Linked DNA regions of Homo sapiens: region 1 is linked to region 2. The links are contacts of gene promoters, found by promoter capture Hi-C in blood cells and fetal thymus (Javierre and others, 2016). All regions are on one chromosome and are shown on one strand. Each heading gives the region's core, a stretch centred on a gene start or on the middle of the fragment in contact. The rest is flanking DNA. Distances are from core to core; before and after follow the strand shown.

Evidence for each region. Contacts are between HindIII fragments. The CHiCAGO score rates a contact against its expected background, and 5 or more counts as called.
Region 1: a fragment that was not itself captured here is called in contact with the fragment with the promoter of LRIG2 in region 2 in 2 of 17 cell types (activated CD4 T cells and neutrophils); the score reaches 5.5 in activated CD4 T cells.

What each region holds. Positions count from the first base shown.
Region 1 is chr1:112,728,309-112,734,693 of GRCh38, forward strand. No RefSeq gene overlaps it. Among named protein-coding and RNA genes, the nearest start is that of TAFA3, 13 kb to the left of the region's middle. The HindIII fragment of the contact is 1,179 bases long and covers 1,262-2,440 here.
Region 2 is chr1:113,069,997-113,076,789 of GRCh38, forward strand. It overlaps LRIG2 (leucine rich repeats and immunoglobulin like domains 2), which reads left to right and starts at 3,202. Exons shown (of 18, transcript NM_014813.3): 1 at 3,202-3,649. The coding sequence starts at 3,411. LRIG2-DT (LRIG2 divergent transcript) reads right to left here and starts at 3,106. Exons shown (of 3, transcript NR_103777.1): 1 at 2,943-3,106. RefSeq lists enhancers at 2,673-2,922, 2,981-3,514, 3,173-3,482, 3,515-4,046, 3,663-3,722 and 1 more. The HindIII fragment of the contact is 20,110 bases long and covers 1-6,793 here.

The sequences.
Region 1 (6,385 bases), core at 601-3,100, 340 kb before region 2:
AGGTAGGGAGTTGGTCAAAGATCGTCCCCTCTCCCCTCTCCCCTCTCCCCTCTCCCCTCTCCCCTCTCCCCTCTCCCCTCTTCCCTCTTCCCTCTTCCCTCTCCTGCCATGATCTCAGCTCGCTGCAACCTCCCTGCCTCGGACTCCCGTGATTGGCCTGCCGAGTGCCTGGGATTGCAGGCACGCGCCGCCACACCTGACTGGTTTTTGTATTTTTGGTGGAGACGGGGTTTCGCCGTGTTGACTGGGCTAGTCTCCAGCTCCTGACCTCGAGTGATCTGCCCGCCTTGGCCTCCCGAGGTGCTGGGATTGCAGACGGAGTCTCGCTCACTCAGTGCTCAATGTTGCCCAGGCTGGAGTGCAGTGGCGTGATCTCGGCTCGCTACAACCTTCACCTCCCAGCCGCCTGGCTTGGCCTCCCAAAGTGCTAAGATTACAGCCTCTGCCTGGCCGCCACCCCATCTGGGAAGTGAGGAGCGCCTCTGCCCGGCCGCCGCCCCGTCTAGGAAGTGAGGAGCGCCTCTGCCTGGCCGCTGTGCAATCTTCCAAGTGTGAAGTGACAGCCTTTCTGCAGGTGTACCCAACAGCTCCGAAGAGACAGTGACCATCGAGAACAGGCCATGATGACGATGGCGGTTTTGTCGAAAAGAAAAGGGGGAAATGTTGGGAAAAGAAAGAGAGGTCAGATTGTTACTGTGTCTGTGTAGAAAGAAGTAGACATAGGAGACTCCATTTTGTTCTGTACTAAGTAAAATTCTTCTGCCTTGGGATGCTGTTAATCTATAACCTTACCCCCAACCCTGTGCTCTCTGAAACATGTGCTGTGTCAACTCAGGGTTAAATGGATTAAGGGCGGTGCAAGATGTGCTTTGTTAAACAGATGCTTGAAGGCAGCATGCTCTTTTAAGAGTCATCACAACTCCCTAATCTTAAGTACCCAGGGACACAAACACTGCAGAAGGAAAGCCGCAGGGACCTCTGCCTAGGAAAACCAGAGACCTTTGTTCACATGTTTATCTGCTGACCTTCTCTCCACTATTTTCCTATGACCCTGCCACATCCCCCTCTCCGAGAAACACCCAAGAATGATCAATAAATACTAAAATAAATAAATAAATAAATAAAATAAAATAGTGGCTAGACAGAAAAAAAAAAAGAAGAAGATCGTCATTACCTCCTTTAAGGTTGGAGGATGGAGGGTGGGGATGGATTAAGGGATTGGCAAACATTTTCTGGAAAAGGCCAGATAGTAAATATTTCAAGCTTGGCAGCTCACATACAGTCTCTGTTGCATACTCTTTGTTTTTATTGTTGATTTTTTGTTTGTTTGTTTGTTTCATTTTGTTTTAAAATATCTTTAATATACAAAAGCTAGTCTTATTAATAGCTCAAGTCTTAGCTGTATAGAAACAGAATCTGGGTCTGTTTCAGAAGGATGCCAATCTGATGAACCTTTGAAGGCAGGCCATCTCTGCAGTGTGGGACTGCCTCCCAGCCTCCTTGCCTGACTTCTGTGCAATGGGAACCTGAGCATGAGGGCTGGGTCAGGTTTTGTTTTTCTCCTAATGCTTCTTGAGAGATTGGTGAGTGAATTATTTAGGCTACAAATGAGACAGCTTTAGCAGAGTCAGACAATAACAGCCTGTTCTCCTGGAGGCCAGAATAGGGGCTTTTCTCCAGTCATTCTGCACCCTCAAGACTGTGTCCAGGAAGGAGGGAGAGGGCTCGAGCCCCCTGCCCATCTGCTGCATCCACAAGCTGGTGGGCTCTGAGCTGGGGATTGAGCCTGAGAGCAGGGATCATGCTATACAAACTCTCTCCTGAGTTGCCAACCACTGCCAGCCTCTGCCTCAGCCAAAGTCTGGGTTCTGCAACCTTCCCTGACCTCCCTCACCCCTGCTACAGAGAAGACCTCTTTCCTTTGACACATGCTGGAATTTGCTAACTCCTAATTCATTTTTTTTAACTCCTCAAGCCTTCATTTCCTCCTTACCTTTTCATATATTTTTTTGGTGGGCCTTGAGGGGTATCTTTTATATAGCCAGAAGACCCCTACATAGGAGGGTCTGATGGAGAAGGGAAAGTGTCCCACCTCCCCCACAATAGCATCCTAGGGTCCTGTTTCCAACTGAATCAATATTTATGTGCGTTTTTTAGCTACAGTTTAAAAATGCAAATTAATTTTCCTGGAACATAGGGTTCCTGGAGTCATTTATCTTCCTCTTCTCCCCTTACTGGATTGGAATCTCAGTCCCTGAAGTTAGCTGGTACCCACACTGTCCTCAGCTGTGAAGGCCTTAGGAAGGTTACCAACCACAGGAGATCATGTGGCTAACTTCTGTTGGCATCCTAGCAGTTTCATTGAGGCCTATGAGTGACATCCTAATTAACGGTCCCCAGACAGTTGCCTGGATTGAGGCTGCAACTTCCTAAAATCACAAGCTTACAGCTAGAAGGGATTTTAATGTTTTCTTTCTTTCTTTTTTTTTTTTTTTTTTTTTTTTTTTTTTTTTTTTGAGACAGTGTCTCCCTCTGTTGCCCAGGCTGGAGTACAGTGGCATAATCATGGCTTACTGCAGCCTTGGCCTCTTGGGCTCAAGCAATCCTCTCACCTCAGCTTCCTGAGTAGCTGGCACTAATGGCATGTGCTGCCACATCCTTTTTTTTTTTTTTGTAGAATAGAGACAGGGTCTTCCTATGTTGCCCAGACTGGTCTTGTCTTGAACGTCCGGCCTCGAGCAATCCTCCTGCCTCAGCCTCCCAAAGTGCTGCGATTACAGGTGTGAGGCACCACACCCAGCTTGCAAGGGATTTTAGAGACCAGTTAGCCAACTCCCTCATTTGACAGAAAAGGGAGGCTCAGAGAGGCTAGGTGATTTGTCACATAGCAAGCTGTTGATGTGTCCTGTCCAGTGATCCAGACGGTGTTCTTTCTACTACTACACATCAAGTTTAGATGAGGAACCTGAAAAGAAGCTGGGATTTTAACAAGGATGAATGTGAAAGTGTCCCATTCTAAAGTCAATCAACCTTGCGAGTGCAAGGGAACAGAATGAAGAATGGGAAACATGGAGAGATATATACACAGAAGGAGGGCAGGAGGAACAAAAAAGAGGGATTGAGATCACTCATTCAGAAGAACACAATGCACAGCACAAAATAATAAGAACAGAACTGATGCCACATCCAAAACAATTGATTTTTATCCTTTCTCAAGGAGACAGAATGGAGCCCCTGTTAACCTTAGAGAGATCAGCGAAGCCACTTGGATGGCTTCTGGGTTCTTCAGGCTGCATACTAAAGCCCATGGGCTAAATCTGGCCTGCTGCCTTTTTGTAAATAAAGTTTTATTGGAACTTAACTATGCTTATTTGTGTCTTCCTGTCTGACTATTTTTATACTAAACAGCAGAGTTGAGTCATTTTGAAGAGCCCATATGGATCACAAAGTCTAAAATATTTATCTAATCCTTTGTTTTTTGTTTTTGAGATAGAGTTTTGCTCTTGTTGCCCAGGCTGGAGTGCAGTGGTGCAATCTTGGCTCACTGCAACCTCCGCCTCCCGGGTTCAAGCGATTCTCCTGTCTCAGCCTCCCAAGTAGCAGGGATTACAGGTACACGCTACCACACCTGGCTAATTTTTGTATTTTTAGTAGAGATGGGGTTTCATCATATTGGTCAGGCTAGTCTCGAACTCCTGACCTCAGGTGATCCACCTGCCTTGGCCTCCCAAAGTGCTGGGATTACAGGCATGAGCCACCACGCCCAGCCCATTATCTGAGCCTTTGTACAAAAATTTTGCCAACTGATGCCTTGGTGTTTTAGTTGAATCTTTCTCAACATACTTTTGCAATCTGGAAATGATGACTCTGCATTGTTTTCCTGAGTTTAGGGATATATATACATATATATATTTGAGGCTGTGCCTCTGCCTGCTTTAATCCCTTCCAGTGCCACCTGTGATATCTAACAAGCAAAGAAATGAAGACGTAAAGACTAAGAAGCCAAGAGAAAGACTTCAGGACAGATGCTTCCCTAATATGCTGTCACACCCTAGATCAGTTCAGTTCATATTTTCCAGGTTCATGTAACTTCTGCTTTTAAGCTTAAGGAAAATAACTGCATGTGCACCCATGTGTGAAGATGTAATTGTGTGTGCATGTATGCTGCTGGTGTTTCTTTTTTTTTTTTTGAGACGGAGTCTCGCTCTATTGCCCAGGCTGGAGTGCAGTGGCGCTATCTCAGCTCACTGCAAGCTCCGCCTCCTGGGTTCATGCCATTCTCCTGCCTCAGCCTCCCGAGTAGCTGGGACTACAGGCGCCCACCACCGCGCCCGGCTAATTTTTTTTTTGTATTTTTAGTAGAGACGGGGTTTCACCGTGTTAGCCAGGATGGTCTCGATCTCCTGACCTCGTGATCCGCCCGTCTAGGCCTCCCAAAGTGCTGGGATTACAGGCGTGAGCCACTGAGACCGGACTTGCTGCTGGTGTTTCTGTGTGTCTGTGGATTTGAGTATCTCCATGCCTACAAGCAAGGACAATATTCACAATACATAAAAACCAGTTTAGCACAGAGACTGACTCATCAAGACAGGTGCCAGCCCAGGGCACACTGGCAGCACACAACCCAGCACACAACTGCACATTCCCACTCCTCCTGCTATGGCTGAGATGGACTCCAGAACAGAGGAAGGCTCACTTCCCTCTTCCCCACAATGTGAGCAGCTAAGATGGTTTCTGATTTCCTGGGACTTGTGATTTGTCATCAAGCGTGAGTCTAGGCATGTGCATGGGCACAGCAGCTACTGGGCTCATATGGCTCTAAACACTCTATTTAAAATAGATATGTAGACTGGGCATAAGGAGGACCAAGCAACTACCTTTCAAACCATACATGAGGGTACAAACTCCCCTTCAGTCTGGTCTAGAGGAAGTGGATTCCAGCCATTTTTAAAAGGCTAGATTGACCACAAGGCTGGGTGATTGGCGATACACCGTAGCTTCTATTAGTGAAACTCTACCATGTGTCAAACATATATTAAATGGGACTCTTCCCATCTCAAAATTCGGACAGAGGCCCTAAAGATCAGGTAAAATAAAATTGACTATCAACTATACTAAACTCCTCCCACATTCTAAATCAAAATGCTAGACTTGCAAAAGGGGTGATGAATAGCTGTTACCCACCTCCAGACTGCATGAGAAAGGGCTAAGAACTAAGGTTGAAAAGCAGGCGGTAGTGAAGATCTGACTGGAGAGAGTTGTCACTTTCTTCCACCCTGGCCAATGGTGTGATTCTTTCTTACTGTAAGCCACTTCAGAGGGGGTTCCAGAGAAGAACTCCAAGAGCTTGACTTGAATCCATTGGAGCGTATGGGACCCAGGAACTCAGACCTGAAAATAATCTGAAGGCGAGTGGCTATGGCTGGCTGGTTGCTCTGGAGAGAGTCCAGAGGACCACCTTGAGAGTGAGCTGCCCCCAAGAGCTCAGCAGAGCGCGATGTTTGCATGTTTTCCACAGGCCAAAAGTGGACTGCCCAAGAGGGCTGCCTGGAAGAGAGAGGTGAACCCAGCTAGGGAGGGATTACCGAAGCCAGGAGTCTGAGAGGGAGTCATAAGTGGCCAGTGGAAGGAGACATCACCCACATCAAGGGATTTGTAAACAGGGGATCCCCAGCAATAGGGCATCTTCCAGAAATCCAGGAAAGTATCCTCTCACACAAGATAATGCCCAGACTCTGAGATGGAAAGAGACTTAGAGAGACTCATAGACATCAAATAATTCATTCAATATCAAGCAGCTAAGTAAATGGCATGTGGTAGTTTTGTATTGTGTCAGTTTGGGTAAGCTGGAGCTACATTTCCCAGAATCCCATCCCCTGCGTGGTTCTGGTTTAGAGTTGGCCAAAAGATTAATTTGTGAATGATTTGTAAGGCAGAGAAGCGAAGCAGCTGCCACAATTACTTTCTGAAGGCTGTCATAGGTTAGAAGTGTCAGCAGGTTCCAGGTTATACTTATTCTCACCCACTCCACATTTAGCCTTACTTGGCAACTCCTGGCCCTTCCGACCAACAAAAACTGAAAAGCCCAGACCAACCCCAGATACAGAGGCAATAGACTTTCATAAACTTCTCCTCTCTAGGATCCTGCTCCAGCAGCTGGCATTCCTGAGTCCAGAAAGTTTGATTAGTGGCTTTTCTCTGGTCCTCCAACTTCTTCATTCAAACCTTTACTCTCCCAGTTTCTCCAGCAATTCTGTAAAGCCACCCTCCCATAATAAATCTCTTATTACACAACACTCTTAGTGTTTCTCCTTCCCTGATGGAACCCTGACCGATACCATTAGTATCAATCATAAACATCAAGTAGGTATTGGAAATGGCTCCA
Region 2 (6,793 bases), core at 1,952-4,451:
AGGAGCCCCTCTGCCCGGCCAGCCGCCCCGTCCGGGAGGGAGGTGGGGGGGTCGGCCCCCCGCCCGGCCAGCCGCCCCGTCCGGGAGGGAGGTGGGGGGGTCGGCCCCCCGCCCGGCCAGCCGCCCCGTCCGGGAGGGAGGTGGGGGGGGTCAGCCCCCCCGCCCAGCCAGCCGCCCTGTCCGGGAGGTGAGGGGCGCCTCTGCCCGGCCGCCCCTACTGGGAAGTGAGGAGCCCCTCTGCCCGGCCAGCCGCCCCGTCCGGGAGGGAGGTGGGGGGGTCGGCCCCCCGCCCGGCCAGCCGCCCCGTCCGGGAGGGAGGTGGGGGGGGTCGGCCCCCCTGCCCGGCCAGCCGCCCCGTCCGGGAGGTGAGGGGCGCCTCTGCCCGGCCAGCCGCCCCGTCCGGGAGGGAGGTGGGGGGGTCAGCCCCCCGCCCGGCCAGCCGCCCCGTCCGGGAGGGAGGTTGGGGGGTCAGCCCCCCGCCCGGCCAGCCGCCCCGTCCGGGAGGGAGGTGGGGGGGGTCAGCCCCCCTGCCCGGCCAGCCGCCCCGTCCGGGAGGTGAGGGGCGCCTCTGCCCGGCCGCCCCTACTGGGAAGTGAGGAGCCCCTCTGCCCGGCCACCACCCCGTCTGGGAGGTGTGCCCAACAGCTCATTGAGAACGGGCCAGGATGACAATGGCGGCTTTGTGGAATAGAAAGGCGGGAAAGGTGGGGAAAAGATTGAGAAATCGGATGGTTGCCGTGTCTGTGTAGAAAGAAGTAGACATGGGAGACTTTTCATTTTGTTCTGCACTAAGAAAAATTCCTCTGCCTTGGGATCCTGTTGATCTGTGACCTTACCCCCAACCCTGTGCTCTCTGAAACATGTGCTGTGTCCACTCAGGGTTAAATGGATTAAGGGCGGTGCAAGATGTGCTTTGTTAAACAGATGCTTGAAGGCAGCATGCTCGTTAAGAGTCATCACCACTCCCTAATCTCAAGTACCCAGGGACACAAACACTGCGGAAGGCCGCAGGGTCCTCTGCCTAGGAAAACCAGAGACCTTTGTTCACTTGTTTATCTGCTGACCTTCCCTCCACTATTGTCCCATGACCCTGCCAAATCCCCCTCTGTGAGAAACACCCAAGAATTATCAATAAAAAAATAAATTAAAAAAAAAAAAAAAAAACACATATTTGCGGCTGGGTGTGGTGGCTCATGCTTGAAATCCCAGCACTCTGGGAGGCCGAGGCGGGCGGATCACCTAAGGTTGGGAGTTCGAGACCAGCCTGACCAACATGGAGAAACCCCATCTCTACTAAAACTACAAAATTAGCTGGGCGTGGTGGCGCATGACTGTAATCCCAGCTACTCAGGAGGCTGAGGCAGGAGAATCGCTTGAATCCAGGAGGCGGAGGTTGCGGTGAGCCGAGATTGTGCCATTGCACTCCAGCCTGGGCAACAATAATGAAATTTTGTCTCAAAAAAAAAACAAAAAAAACAAAAAAAACAAAAAAAACGTGTATTTGTGGCCAGTCACAGTGGCTCATGCCTGTAATCCCAGCACTTTGAGAGCCCGAGGTGGGTGGATCACCTGAGGTCAGGAGTTCGAGACCAGCCTGGCCAAAAAGGCAAAACCCCGTCTCTACTAAAAATACAAAAATTAGCCGGGCATGGTGGTGCACACCTGTAGTCCCAGCTACTAGGCAGGCTGAGGCAGGAGAATCGCTTGAATACGGCAGGCAGAGATTGCAGTGAGCCACTTACTGCGGAGGATACAGGTTAGAGAGCATTAATTTCTAATGGCCCCATTTGGTATAGTTTCATAGGAAAGCTCTGAAACTATAATGTAGAAAGGAACTAAACTGCCTCCTTTTTTTTTTTGTAAGGTTCCTGCCTATGCCGGATTTCTTACCAGAGTTTGTTAAGTCTGCTCAACAGCTAAGGGAAGAAGGCTAAGAGTAAGTTTCATTCCGCTGTCTTGGCTTTAAAAGTTTGGTTTGGACTGTAGCATTGGATATGGCCTTGTTTCCAATATATACTTCAATATTAAAAAAAAAAAACAGAAAAAGGTTTTTAAAAACATAATTATGACTCCATAATCTGCCATGGGAAAGATTGCTTTCAGTTACTTTCTATGAGAACCCTAACCTAGGCATTATCATTCTTTTTAACCTGCTCAGATTTTCAATTTATGTCAGAAAACCCATGTTAATGTCGAACCTGCCCCTGCCTCAAGAGTAACTTGGTTTAACCTCTTGGGGCTTGTTGCATCATCAGCAATAATTGTCTTGCCAATGTCACAGTCACTGAAGGAGCAAACAAGATAACAGATGCAAACGCCCTTTGAAAAGTTCACTACGTATAAGTGAACCATCACTATTATTCTCAAAGTCTTATTTACAACCTTGGATGGCTGAATGAGCATAAGATGGCCAGACTTCACTGTTCCTAGTAAGTTTTCCATAGCCTCTGCTTTAGGAGAAATAAATTTCCTCACATCCAGTCTTTGCTTTGTTGACTGCTCAACACCCTCTTGTCTCGCTTGCTTTTCTGAGAGTGACCTTGACAGCATCCCTCCAAAGAGAAGGGTATTTCCTTTATATAGACATGCAGGTGCAGTCCCACCAAAATTTATTGAACTCCAAGCTAGAACAAAAGGTGGAGGTGCACCGATGAAGAAACAGGGCCTCTGCCTTCAGGAGCTTACAAGGCCATTAACAGAGAGTGATATTGATCTTATGCAAATGGCAGTTGCCGCCTACTTGCAGAAGAGCAGGGGCTACAGCCAAGCAGCAGGGGGCAGAAGAGGCTCGAGCTCGGCTCTGGAGGCCGATCTGGCCAAAGCCAGGATAGAAGCTCCCGTGACCCATTCGTGTGTGCGACTTGGAAGGCAGCCCTTCTGCCACTCCCCTTTCTTAAAGCCCAGAGCAAATAAAAGATCCTTTTCTACTACAGTAGATATACCTGTAGTCAGGACTTTGAACTCACAGCTATTCGCCGCACCATTCCCTCTTAAGGAACTACTGCGCCCTCCAGCGGAAGAACAGCGGCGGAACTCCACAGCGGCAGCTAAAATCCCTGAACGCTTTAAAGTCCTTCTCCTCAAGATACTCGGCTGCGTCTGGCCCCGCCCCTCACTGAGTTCCGCCCCGGGCGCAACCTCATCTTATGGCACCGATTGGCTGGCCCCTGTGCGTGAGGACGTTGCGCCGTGGGGAGGGGCGGACGAGAGGTGTCCGTCAGGCCGTGTGTCCCAGGCCGTCGACCCCGCTGTCGCGCTGCGTCTGCTCCTTGCATGCCTTTAGATGGTACAGCCTTCAGCCGGGGCTTCGGGAGACAGTGCAGCCACCGAGCATCTCTGCTGAGCTTCTCCGCCGATCCTCCTTTTCTAGCAGGCAGCTCTTCTAGGCCACGTCCAGGTCGAGGGGGAAAATGGCGCCGGCGCCCCTAGGCGTCCCGGAGGAGCAGTTGCTGGGGTGTCGATCTAGAGTGCTTTCTCGGTTACTCTTCATTGCCCAGACCGCTCTCCTCCTGTTGCCCGCCGCCGGAGCAGGTCTCTGCCCCGCGCCCTGCTCCTGCCGCATTCCTCTCCTGGACTGCAGTCGCAGGAAATTGCCCGCACCGAGCTGGAGGGCGCTGTCGGGCTTGCTGCCCCCCGACACCGCTATCCTGTGAGTAGAGCGGCCAGGCAGAGTGACCAAAAGGAGGGGGAGCCTTCCCTCTACAGGGGGCAGGCAGGAGGGAGACAGGCCTGGTCGGAGGGTGTGGTCGAGAGCCTAAGCTCTGAAGGAAACTGCCGTCAGGATTTTATGAACTTTGTTTTAGGTGGTGGGAGCCTAAAAAAGCCGGTGTTAAGGTTTCTGGAGAATTGTATGAAGACGAGGGTTAAGATTCTTGGGGCCAAGGAGTCTGTGATTTCCTCAACTGGGGAGGAAATGGGGCGGGCATATTTAATGGTAAGGACTCACGGGTCCTGGGCACCAGCATTGACTTTGGATGGTTGGTGGGGCGGGGGGTGGGTTGAGCACGGAACAGTGCTTTCTGCTTATCTTGAGCTGCATGATTTGGTGTGTACCTCAGACTTAGTGGTCCTCAGGCACGTGATTTTATAATCACAATCGCCAAAGACCTATGAACTGTCTTTAGTCCTTAGTTCGCATGTTGGCTGATTTTGTGCTGCAGTTTTGATACTTAACAGGGTTGAAAAGTTCATTATGATGAATCAGGAGATCCTGTAATTCAGAATATCTTTGTAAGTAGCATTCTTGATCTAATTTAAACTTCACTGTAAAGAGGAGGAGTATTTTTTGCAGAACCATTTGATGCTTTGTTTTCAGCGCATCTTCTTGTGGCAAAGAACCCAAAAATCAGTTCTGCTTATTTATGTAGGTAAAGCAGGTACAACGGTTGAATGAATTCTGGAGTTTCCACTGTTGAGTTTTCACTTTGACAGGTCTTTATTAGACAGTGGAACTTGGAGGGCTCCTTAGTCTGAGTCAGCCTGGTGGTATTAGGAACAACAGCAGGTATTAAATGCTGCAATTATGGGGCTTCTTAACCACTAACATACAGTTATTTCTCGTCACTAACTGAGCAGCACGTTTATTAACTGACAGATTTCTGATGGAGTCGTTAAGAAAGAGTCATCAATGGGCCAGGCGCGGTGGCTCACGCCTGTAATCCCAGCACTTTGGGAGGCCGAGGCGGGCCGATCACGAGGTCAAGAGATCGAGACCATCCTGGCCAACATGGTGAAACCCCGTCTCTACTAAAAATACAAAAAAATTAGCTGGGTGTGGTGGTGTGCGCCTGTAGTCCCAGCTACTCGGGAGGCTGAGGCAGGAGAATCGCTTGAACCCGGGAGGTGGAGGTTGCAGTGAGCTGAGATCACGCCACTGCACTCCAGCCTGAAAACAGAGCGAGACTCCGTCTGGGGGGAGGGAGGGTCGGGGAGGAAGAGGGGCCGGGTGCGGTGGCTCACGCTTGTAATCCCAGCACTCTGGGAGGCTGAGGCGGGCTGATCACCTAAGGTTGGGAGTTCGAGACCAACCTGACCAACATGGAGAAACCCCATCTCTACTAAAAATGCAAAGTTAGCTGGGTGTGGTGGCGCGTGCCTGTAATACTAGCTACACCCTGAGGCAGGAGAATCACTTGAACCCGGGAGGGCGAGGTTGGAGTGAGCCGAGATCGTGCCATTGCACTCCAGCCTGGGCAACAAGAGTGAAACTCTGTCTCAAAAAAAAAAAGAGTCATCACTAAAAAAATAGGTTGAAGTGCAATTAAAATATGAGAGGCTGCTTGGATTTTTATTGGAAATAGAATACAAATAAGAGGTGTTGCGGAGTTTAAGAAGTATTTATATATTTGCAAATAGGTTAGCACAGATAGGAAAGAAAGCTACCTCATGTAGTCATTGAAAAAATTAACATAAATAATCAAATCTTTTAGTAAACATAGAACTGCAGTGTAGTAAGATGCTTTCTCTTTCATGGTAGTGACACCTGTAGTCACTTCTGGTTTTATTGACCCAAATTTAAAAACTCCTATCAGTGTGCAGTGTAGTGTCAGTTAAACCTAGCACAGCCTCTTTGTTATGCAGCAAGTGCCTTTTTCTAAGACATTCTTGGAAGAGCTACCTGATTATAACAATAAGTCTGGCACAGATTTGACAAAACAGCTTCATTTAGCTGTAATTGGAATGAATGTGGCCTATACTTTTTTTTTTTTTTTTTTTTGAGATGGAGTCGCGCTCTTGTTGCCCAGGCTGGAGTGCAATGGTGTGACCTCGGCTCCCTGCAACCTCTGCTTCCCAGGTTCAAGCGATTCTCCTGCCTCAGCCTCCCAAGTAGCTGGGATTACAGGCGTGCGCTACCATGCCTGGCTAATTTTTCATATTTTTAGTAGAGGTGGGGTTTCACCATGTTGGCCAGTCTGGTCTTAAACTCCTGATGTCAGGTGATCCACCCACCTCAGCCTCCCAAAGTGCTGGGGTTACAAGCATGAGCCACCAAGCCCGGCCTGGCCTACTTTTTTTTTTTTTTTATTTAAGAGAGAGTCTTGCTCTGTCACCCAGGCTGGAGTGCAGTGGCACGATCTCGGCTCAGTGCAGCCTCTGCCTCCTGGGTTCCAGTGATTCTCCTGCCTCAGACTCCCAGGTAGCTGGGATTACAGACTTGAGCCAGTATGCCCACCTAATTTTTGTATTTTCAGTAGAGACGGGGTTTCACCATGTTGGCCAGGCTGGTCTTGAACTCCTGACCTCAGGTGATCTGCCCACCTTGGCCTCCCAAAGTGCTAGGATTACAGGCACGAGCCACTGCGCTTGGCCACAGCCGGGCCTACATTTAAGATTCTCCGTTGGTTGGTAAACATTTAGAAGTAATTTTATGTAAGATATATTTTTGTGTTAAGGTTTGATTTTTGTTTAATCAAGACCAATTGCCTAGAGCCAAGTGACATTCAGAATTTTTAATGTCCTATAATGAAATGACATTTTCAGTTGAAGTGAAATGACTTAGAGAACAATTCAGTTGTAGAAATGTAATTGGATGGAAGTCTTACATTGGTAGAACTCTTAGAATATTAAAAGATAGTACCGTACTATTTTAAATTGAGAAATGAAACATTCTTCAGCAGTTGCCTTTAGCTATAAAACCACCCAGTACATTTGGGTTTCTTTATGTAATTTTGAATGTTGAAATACATGTAATGCTTTAAATATATTAGGGATTCAAATATATGCTCAAACTTGTGACCATCAAAATGATTATGGACAAAATTCATTAATACTGATTTTTGGAAACATACTCAGA